Regions from separate parts of the Homo sapiens genome. Here region 1 is linked to region 2. The links are contacts of gene promoters, found by promoter capture Hi-C in blood cells and fetal thymus (Javierre and others, 2016). All regions are on one chromosome and are shown on one strand. The core of a region is centred on a gene start or on the middle of the fragment in contact, and the rest is flanking DNA. Distances in the headings are between cores, read along the strand shown.

What was found. The method cuts DNA at HindIII sites, captures the fragments that hold promoters and counts their contacts. A CHiCAGO score of 5 or more calls a contact.
Region 1: a contact is called between a fragment that was not itself captured here and the fragment with the promoter of DND1 in region 2, in 12 of 17 cell types (monocytes, total CD8 T cells, non-activated CD4 T cells and 9 more). The highest score is 8.0, in monocytes.

What each region holds. Positions count from the first base shown.
Region 1 is chr5:140,558,659-140,562,955 of GRCh38, reverse strand. APBB3 (amyloid beta precursor protein binding family B member 3) reads left to right here. Exons shown (of 13, transcript NM_133173.3): 4 at 233-293; 5 at 457-603; 6 at 729-856; 7 at 1,107-1,112; 8 at 1,255-1,369; 9 at 1,507-1,591; 10 at 1,855-1,938; 11 at 2,202-2,317; 12 at 2,452-2,643; 13 at 4,135-4,297. Among named protein-coding and RNA genes, the nearest start is that of MIR6831, 2.9 kb to the left of the region's middle. The HindIII fragment of the contact is 2,628 bases long and covers 1,423-4,050 here.
Region 2 is chr5:140,670,230-140,675,123 of GRCh38, reverse strand. It overlaps DND1 (DND microRNA-mediated repression inhibitor 1), which reads left to right and starts at 1,548. Exons shown (of 4, transcript NM_194249.3): 1 at 1,548-1,605; 2 at 1,736-1,853; 3 at 2,218-2,679; 4 at 3,374-4,330. The coding sequence starts at 1,582. The coding sequence ends at 3,831. It overlaps WDR55 (WD repeat domain 55), which reads right to left. Exons shown (of 7, transcript NM_017706.5): 7 at 2,779-4,894. HARS1 (histidyl-tRNA synthetase 1) reads left to right here. Exons shown (of 13, transcript NM_002109.6): 11 at 1-107; 12 at 299-445; 13 at 796-1,219. The coding sequence ends at 867. RefSeq lists enhancers at 1,083-1,878, 1,879-2,674. The HindIII fragment of the contact is 8,462 bases long and covers 1,523-4,894 here.

The sequences.
Region 1 (4,297 bases), core at 1,487-3,986, 110 kb after region 2:
CTTTTATTCTATGTCCTGTGTCTGGGTCCTATGTCCTGAATTTTCCCTCAAATTCTGAGTCACACTTTATGTTACGTTAATATGTCCTGGGCTCTACCCTGCTCTGGTTTTATATTTCTGGTGCTATATTCTGGGTCTTGCCCCTCATCCTGTGCTTATCAAGTTGTCTAGGCCTCACCAGTGTCCCTACTGTAGGAAATGTGGTCCTCTTAACAGCTCTGCTCTGTTTCAGTAACTCTCTGTCCTGGTATGGTGGGGAATCCTACATCCAGAGCATGGAGCCAGGGGCTAAGGTAGTGACTTGGGCCTGAGGGCATTGGGAGGTCCCAAGGGAAAGACAAGGGTGGGATTGGACTGAACAGAGGTGATCAAGGGTGAAGACAGGGAGTATGTATTGTGGCACCTGCCACCCTACTCCATCCTTATTAATTCCTGTCCCTTCCCCCAACCTGTCAGTGCTTTGCAGTCCGCTCTCTGGGCTGGGTAGAGGTACCTGAAGAGGACCTGGCACCGGGGAAGAGCAGTATTGCAGTCAATAACTGTATCCAGCAGCTGGCCCAGACCCGCAGCCGGAGCCAGCCTCCAGATGGTGCCTGGGGTGAGGTGAGTTGGCTGGGCCCTTTAATGGTTTGGGCCCAGGGCCCAGCAGAGGTAGCTGTCCCTGAATTTCCTATTTCTCATGGCAATGACCTTTATCTGAGCTCTGGGCTGACCTCTGTCCTTGGCAGGGCCAGAACATGCTGATGATCCTGAAGAAGGATGCCATGAGCCTAGTGAATCCCCTGGACCACAGTCTGATCCACTGCCAGCCTCTGGTGCACATCCGTGTGTGGGGCGTGGGGAGCTCCAAGGGCCGGTGAGGATGCCTACATCCCCCAAGCAAGAGCTACTTCTCCCTCCCGGCTGCAGGCTGTGATCCCCACTGATGCTGATCCCCAGTACTTGAACCCCTGGACACAGATCCTCTGATGTGGACCCAGGACTGCTTCCCCTGCCTGGTCCAGCCCTGGTTGGGGAGGGTGGGCCCAGCTCAGCAGGGACAGTTTGGGGAGAGTCCGAGAGGCTGGGCTGATTCCCTTCTGTGCTCCCACATGCTTCCGGAACAGTGACAGGTGAGTGAAAACCAGGTATCCTGAGCCCCATCCCTGATGTCCCTACTCCATCCCTGCTATATCCCTAGCCTGACTTTCCAGCCTCCTGCAGGCTCCTGCCTCTAACCAGCTTCTACCCCAGCCCCATCTCTGCCCCTGCTAGGGACTTCGCTTTTGTGGCAAGTGACAAAGATAGCTGTATGCTCAAGTGCCATGTGTTTTGCTGTGATGTCCCTGCCAAGGCCATTGCCAGTGCCCTACATGGGCTTTGTGCCCAGGTAAGTGTCAGGGGTGGGGCAGGGAATGTGGGTAAGGGGTTGGGTCTGAAGCTTCCAAGGTAGTTGGGGTGGTATTGGCCCTTTTACCCTAATTCCCCTCTCTCCCTGTGGGTCATGCTGGCTTCATTGTGTTTTAGATCTTGTCAGAGCGAGTAGAGGTCAGTGGTGATGCCTCTTGCTGCTCCCCAGACCCCATCTCTCCTGAAGACCTGCCACGGCAAGGTATGGGGAGGGGAGACCTGCATTGCTGCATTGGGGTGCTTTGGTGCTGCTTTGTGGGGGGGCGATTTCTGGTTATTTAATACTTCTGTGGATAAATTTCTGAGATGTCTGGTCTCAGGGATCCCAAGCCACTAGTTGGAGGAGCATCTATGAGCCATTTCTTCTACCAGCACCAGCTCTGACCTGAGTCCTGGCCCATTGAGAAGGGTGGGGAAAAGGGTAATTGAAAGAGCTTCCAGGCCAACTTGGTGTGTATATTTCAGTGGAGCTGCTGGATGCGGTAAGCCAAGCTGCTCAGAAGTACGAGGCACTGTATATGGGGACACTGCCAGTCACCAAGGCCATGGGTGAGGACTGAGGGGGCTGCATGTGGTGGGCTGTGTGAGGCAAGGGGAAGGTGAGTGAGGTGAGGCCTGTTATCATTTCTCAAGAGTCCTCCCGTGGCCTTGTTATGGCCTGGGGTCTACCAGCCTTCCCAAATCAGAATTCTAAGGCTTGCCCCAGCTATCCTATTCCCTATCTCTGAATCCCAAATCAGTGAGAGGGGGCTAGACACTCCCTGCAGACTCTTTCTTTTACACTGGGAGACACGCTGGGTATGTTCCCCCAGGCATGGATGTGCTGAACGAGGCCATTGGTACCCTCACCGCCAGGGGGGACCGGAATGCCTGGGTCCCCACCATGCTCAGTGTGTCTGACTCTCTCATGACTGCACACCCCATTCAGGTACCAGAAGAGGGTGAAGTTGGGGGCTTTGGAGGGGTGAGCAGGGATGCTGAGGGGTCACTGCTTGCTGTCGGAAAAGTTAAGTGGGTCTGGCCCGTGCTTGGCCCTCTAGTGACTAGGCCTGGTGTGGGCAGGCAGAGGCCAGTACAGAGGAGGAGCCATTGTGGCAGTGCCCTGTGCGCCTTGTGACATTTATTGGTGTTGGCCGCGACCCACACACCTTTGGCCTCATCGCTGACCTGGGCCGTCAGAGCTTCCAGTGCGCAGCCTTCTGGTGCCAGCCCCATGCAGGGGGACTCTCTGAAGCTGTGCAGGCTGCCTGTATGGTGAGTCATGGGTGGGAATGGGTTGGTGGGATTGCCCTGCAGCTGCTCTCCACTGTTTACTTGGGCTCCGGGTCGGCAGCCTCTTCAGAGATCACAAACCTGGGCTGATTCTGGTTCATTAATGTTTTGGCCCTCATGTTGTTTTTAGTAAGTTTTAATTAGTTGCCAATATTTAAAGGCCAGGACATTTCACATAATAATCGCTATTCTTGTTTTTCTTAAAATATCAAGAGCTCTGGCACTCAGTTCACACGTGTAAGTGTCAGCATGCAGCCAGAGTTGTGCAGAAGCTGTGCCCTAAAGAGTTGGCATTGTTCCTGTTTGTCTCATTTAGGTTTATTTCCTGGCATCTGTGGGCATTTGAGTGTGGGTTGCTTATACTTCGTTAGTTCAGTTTGCCCATTCATTCAACAAATATGGGTGCCTACAGGGTCCCAGACACCATAGCTGACCCTGAGAATTTAGTGCTGTAGAGGGCACAGCCCTTGCCTTCACAAAACACTTAGGATAGAGCCAAGATAGACCAGAAATAAGTTGTACACCACTGGTTGATGGAAGAGGTGGCCCCTTTAGGGGTCAGGAAGGCTACCTGTAAGAGGTGATAGAAATCCGACAGTCCAAGAGGGAAGTTAGCCAGGTGAAGGGGAGTGGGGCAGGTGTACCAAGCACAGGGAACCTTAGCTGTGAAGGTGAGAGATATTAGTGGATGAGAGTATCTGAAAGAATCTAGTGTATCTGGCATGCAAGGGGGACGTAGTGAGAGGTGAGATCAGAGAGAATGACAGAAGCCAGGTTTGGGGGACCTCATAGGTCAGGGTGATGAGTTTATCTGGAGGCACTAGGAAGCACTGGAGCCCGAGAGTGAAGTCAGGGTTATGGATTAGGATGACCACTTAAGCTATAGTATGGGTAAAAGATTTGGAGGACGTAATAGGAGGTAGGAAGGCCAATTAGGACACCTTTGAGCTGTTCAGATGAGATGACTGGGAGCAGTTGCATTGGGGCTGGAGTTTGAGTTGTACACCTTTACCCTTGACTAGGGAATCTGCTTTGCCAGGGACTAGTCCCCACCAGTGAGAGATGGAAAAGAGGCAACATAGTGGTACATGTAATTAAGAGTTTAGGCTCTGCAATCAGAGAGAACTAGGTTTGAATGCCATTTCTGCCTTTCTCTGGCTGTGTGACCTTGGGCAAGTCATATACTCTCTGAATCTCAATTTCCTCTTTTGCAAAACAGGGATAATAACCCCTCATAAATAACTGAATTATACAAAGCACTTAGCAGTGTCCAGCCTGCCCTCCTTAAGTGTCTGATACATGTTTTATGATTTTGTTATTGAGCTACCTGGGAATGCTCTAGAAACTCCACATGTGGCTGACTACCAACCTTGTTATCAGACAGAAGCTTTGGCCAGTTCCCTGTCCTGCAGAAGCTTTCAGGGAGTCTAGAGGCAGAAAGTAGCTGGATCCTCACATTCCCCTTCTCCCTAGGTTCAGTACCAGAAGTGTCTTGTGGCCTCTGCAGCTCGAGGCAAGGCCTGGGGTGCCCAGGCCCGTGCCCGCCTGCGGCTCAAGCGGACCAGCTCCATGGATTCCCCAGGAGGTCCCCTGCCCCTCCCCCTGCTCAAAGGAGGGGTTGGCGGTGCAGGGGCAA
Region 2 (4,894 bases), core at 299-2,798:
AGAAGATACGGACCACGGAGACACAGGTGCTTGTGGCATCTGCACAGAAGAAGCTGCTAGAGGAAAGACTAAAGCTTGTCTCAGAACTGTGGGATGCTGGGATCAAGGTATGGGAGGCAAGCCCCAGGGTGGCAGCAAACTTAGGTGTGCTGGACACAAACTGAATAAAAGCTCACCCATAATGGATCCTGCCATTACTTCTCAAAAGTAGAGCTAAGAACAGGGTGCCAGCTTGGACACCCTCTGTCCCTGAGGACAGCAGAAGCCAGCCTTCATCTTCTGCTCTTGTCCCCTGCAGGCTGAGCTGCTGTACAAGAAGAACCCAAAGCTACTGAACCAGTTACAGTACTGTGAGGAGGCAGGCATCCCACTGGTGGCTATCATCGGCGAGCAGGAACTCAAGGATGGGGTCATCAAGCTCCGTTCAGTGACGAGCAGGGAAGAGGTGAGGGAGGTGGGCAGGAAGGCTAAGGGACAGAGAATGTATGCCATTTTGGCAGGCCCATGCCCATTCAAGACCTGAGAAAAAGCCTGGCATTGATATTAGTACAACTCATAAAAGCCTTGAGGGCTTAACCTGTTACTGTGGTCTTAGTAGGGTGAGATCTCCATCCCTGCATATACCTTATGGTTTGTTGGCTCCCCCAAGAGGCACACTCTAGCCTGAGGTGTTTAATTAGGTTCCTGCTCCCAGCTGAGACAAGCCTGATGCCTAGAGGGCTAGAGGAAACTAGGCACTCGGGGAGCAGTGGAATGGAAGATGCTTATACCACCTTCTTCTCCCATCCTGGCCAGGTGGATGTCCGAAGAGAAGACCTTGTGGAGGAAATCAAAAGGAGAACAGGCCAGCCCCTCTGCATCTGCTGAACTGAACAAACTATCAGAGGAAAGGAAGTGGGACTGGCACTATTTGAGGTTAAGACAAACTGCATATGTACTTCAATTGCTTTGCACTTTTCCGTTTCAGCGGAAGACCTGAAGAGTGGTCAGAACAGAGCCTTTGATTTTTATTATGGTTATTTTATTGATTATTACTGGCAAAAACGGCCAGGTACAACACCTTTTTCATACAAGGCCCAGGAGGCTTAGTCCAGTCTGTGCTCCTGGGCTACAAGGACCCAGCCTGAGATGGTCCCATCTGCAGGGCCCCGCACCAGTTGGAGCAGATGCCTCCCCACCACCAATTGCCAAAGGTCCAATAAAATGCCTCAACCACGGAGTCTGCGTGTGTCAGTGATGCCTAGCCCCGCCTTCCCCAGCAGACCAATGTAGGGATGGAAAAGGGAGAAAAACAGTAAACTTGTGACCCTGAGGTTCTTGTCTCCAGCGTCCACCCTGCGGCTTGGGAGCTCCTCCTCGGGAGGCAGCCCCCGTACATACGCACCCGCGACTTTGCAGCTTTCACCTGAAGGTCTGAGCGAAGCCCGGGCGGCGCACGTGCAGTGGATACCTCCACCCCCCTGGGAGGCGGGGTCGCGCTCAGAGCCAATGAGAGCTTGCGGGGTGGAGGGGTAGGGAAGCTTCCAGAGGCCGGTGGGGAGGAAGTTATAAAGAGGGTACGAGGGGGCCAGCTGGAGAGCCATGCAGTCCAAGCGGGATTGTGAGGTAAGCGGCTGGCGACTTGGGGGCCGGCGAGCCCCGCCGGAGCGGGGGTCGGCTTTAGGGACCCCAGTACCACAGGAGAGGTGGGGGCGCGCTTGGCGATCCGCCATTCCAACCTTCCTTTCCCTCTCAGCTGTGGTGTGAGAGGGTGAATCCAGAGAACAAGGCGGCGCTGGAGGCGTGGGTCAGGGAGACAGGCATCCGCCTGGTGCAGGTGAACGGGCAGAGGAAGTATGGCGGGCCACCCCCAGGTACGGTAGTCCCAGCCCCTCCGCCTGTCCGGCTACACCAGCCCCCTTTGGGGGAGGGGCTGCTCCGAGCCTTCACTGTCAGAAACTGCGAACTACCCGGATTTATACCCCCCAGCAAAGGAGGAACTGTGGCTCCACGTCCACCCGCCCCGTCGAGGGAGGGGGCCAATCTCAAGGTGTACCTACTCTGTGCCAGCCCCCTTGTTAGCGCAGTCACCTAATTATGCCAACCACCCAGGGTACGGGTGTAAACCCATTTCACAGACCTTTGTTCACATCGCCTCCCACCCCCGCGCGCTGGGTCCGTGGGCTCAGAATTCGAAAGCGTCGCCTGACGGTGGCCTTGCATACCCTCTTCCCACAGGCTGGGTGGGCAGCCCGCCGCCAGCTGGGTCAGAGGTGTTCATCGGGCGGCTGCCTCAGGACGTGTACGAGCACCAGCTTATCCCGCTGTTCCAGCGCGTGGGCCGCCTCTACGAGTTCCGCCTGATGATGACCTTCAGCGGCCTGAACCGCGGCTTCGCCTATGCCCGCTACAGCTCGAGGCGCGGCGCGCAGGCCGCCATCGCCACGCTGCACAACCATCCGCTGCGGCCGTCCTGCCCGCTGCTCGTGTGCCGCAGCACCGAGAAGTGTGAGCTGAGCGTTGACGGCCTGCCGCCGAATCTGACCCGCAGCGCGCTGCTGCTCGCGCTGCAGCCGCTGGGTCCCGGCTTGCAGGAGGCGCGGCTGCTGCCCAGCCCCGGACCGGCGCCCGGGCAGATCGCTCTGCTCAAATTCAGCTCGCACCGGGCCGCTGCCATGGCCAAAAAGGCCCTGGTGGAAGGTAGGCTGGGGCGGGGGTGCTGGTTGGGGCCAAACGCGTTCTGCCCGGCACTTTATACTGAGCATAGCTGTTAAAGTTACAAGATCTTAGAGTCAAACATGCCAGAATTTGCAACCTTTTACTATTTGATCTCAGATTTTTAAAACTTCCAATGGTGCTACCACCACCGCTTACCTAAATTTGTGACACTTCCCGAGCATTACCTCCTGACTTAATTCTCAACCTTCCCCCACCCCCACACCGCAAAATAGGCACAGGACCCTCAAGCTATGAGGAAACTGTTAGAGAAATTGATTTGCTCAAGGGAATCCAACTGAGCTTTTTACTACTATAGAATCTGTTTCCTCAGACTGTTATGAGAATTAAGTAACATAATGGGTGTACGGTACTTAGCACACTGACTGACTTACAGCAAGTTTTCCCAGTAAAGATTAGCCATTATGATGGTTATGAGGCAGACAAAGCCTGCAATTAACCAGTACTTCTCCAAGGAAACTTGTAAGGTAGCAGTGTGTTATACTCCCTTTGCAAATAATGGAGGCTGAAGGCTTCATTGTCTTTTCTTACCCATGGTCACACTACCAGGAAATGGGAAGGCTACAAATAACAGGACTGTGTAGCTCCAAAGGGCTCACCACCTGGAGGCTTGGGCCCAGGGTTTAGACCTGCCCTTGTCTTTGCATTTTTCCTACAGGGCAGTCACACCTCTGTGGAGAGCAGGTGGCTGTGGAGTGGCTCAAGCCAGACCTGAAGCAGCGACTTCGCCAGCAGCTTGTGGGTCCCTTCTTGCGGTCCCCACAGCCAGAGGGCAGCCAGTTGGCTTTGGCAAGGGACAAGTTAGGGTTCCAAGGGGCTCGGGCTACCCTGCAGTTGCTGTGCCAACGAATGAAGCTGGGCAGCCCTGTGTTCCTCACCAAGTGTTTGGGCATAGGACCTGCTGGCTGGCACCGCTTCTGGTACCAGGTGGTGATTCCTGGGCATCCGGTGCCCTTCAGCGGCCTCATCTGGGTTGTGCTGACCCTAGATGGCCGGGATGGGCATGAGGTGGCCAAGGATGCTGTGTCTGTACGGCTGCTGCAGGCACTCAGTGAGTCTGGGGCCAACCTCCTGTGGTCTGCTGGGGCTGAGGCAGGTACCATGGTTAAACAGTGACTCCATTCTTTCTCCACAGGCACCCTGAATGGGCATGCAGAGCCTGTGTCAGGCCCCATCCCAGCAGGCCTGGGTGGCCACTTTCTGACCCCCAAAGGTGGGGAGGGGCATGGGCCCAGGCCCATCAGCCTCCCTGCTGGGACAGGGACCTATGGCACCTGGGGGCAGCTTAGGTTTGGGTTAAGTTGTGGTGAGGGGCCTTGCCCTCCCGCTCCCAGCCCAGGGTCCAACCTGACCCAGTGATCTTCCATGGCCGTTCCTTGTCCCACCCCCACCCGATCATACCTTCCCCCCTCTGCCACAGCTTAGCATGAATCTTCTTTATTGTCCTGATTTGTCCTCTTTGTTGGTTTTTATTTGTGGGGAAGGGCAGCTGAGCCAAAGGGGTCAGAAATTCTGCCCTTTGCCTCCACCACATGGCATTCTGGTTTTGGTTTCTGTATAGTTTTGGGTCTTTCTATGCTGGTTGTATTTATATTAAACCCCTGGTTAGTATATACTTGTGTCTGTGCTGTCTTGCCCTAGCTTAGAGTTTGTTTACACTGGTAGAGTGAATAGCTGCTACGGGGCAAGTACTTCCTCACATCAGTGCTTTGAGTGCATCTTCTTGTGTTGCACTGTAGGGTATTATAAATTCATATCCAGGCCGGGTGTGTTGGCTTTTGCCTGTAATCCCAGCACTTTGGGAGGCTGAGGCGGGTGGATCACCTGAGGTCAGGAGTTCGAGACCAGCCTGGCCAGCATGGAGAAACCCCGTCTCTACTGAAAATACAAAAATTAGCCTGGCATGGTGGCAGACACCTGTAATCCCAGCTACTTGGGAGGCTGAGGCAGGAGAATTGCTTGAACCCGGGAGGCGGAGGTTGCAGTGAGCCAAGATCACGCCATTGCACTCCAGCCCTGGCAACAAGAGCGAAACCCTGTCTCAAAAAAAAAAAAAAAAAAAATTTCATATCCAGCCAGGCACAGTGGCTCATGCCTGTAATCCCAGCATTTTGGGAGGCCAAGGCAGGAGGATCACTTGAGCCCAGGAGTTCCAAGACCAGCTTGGTCAACATAGTGA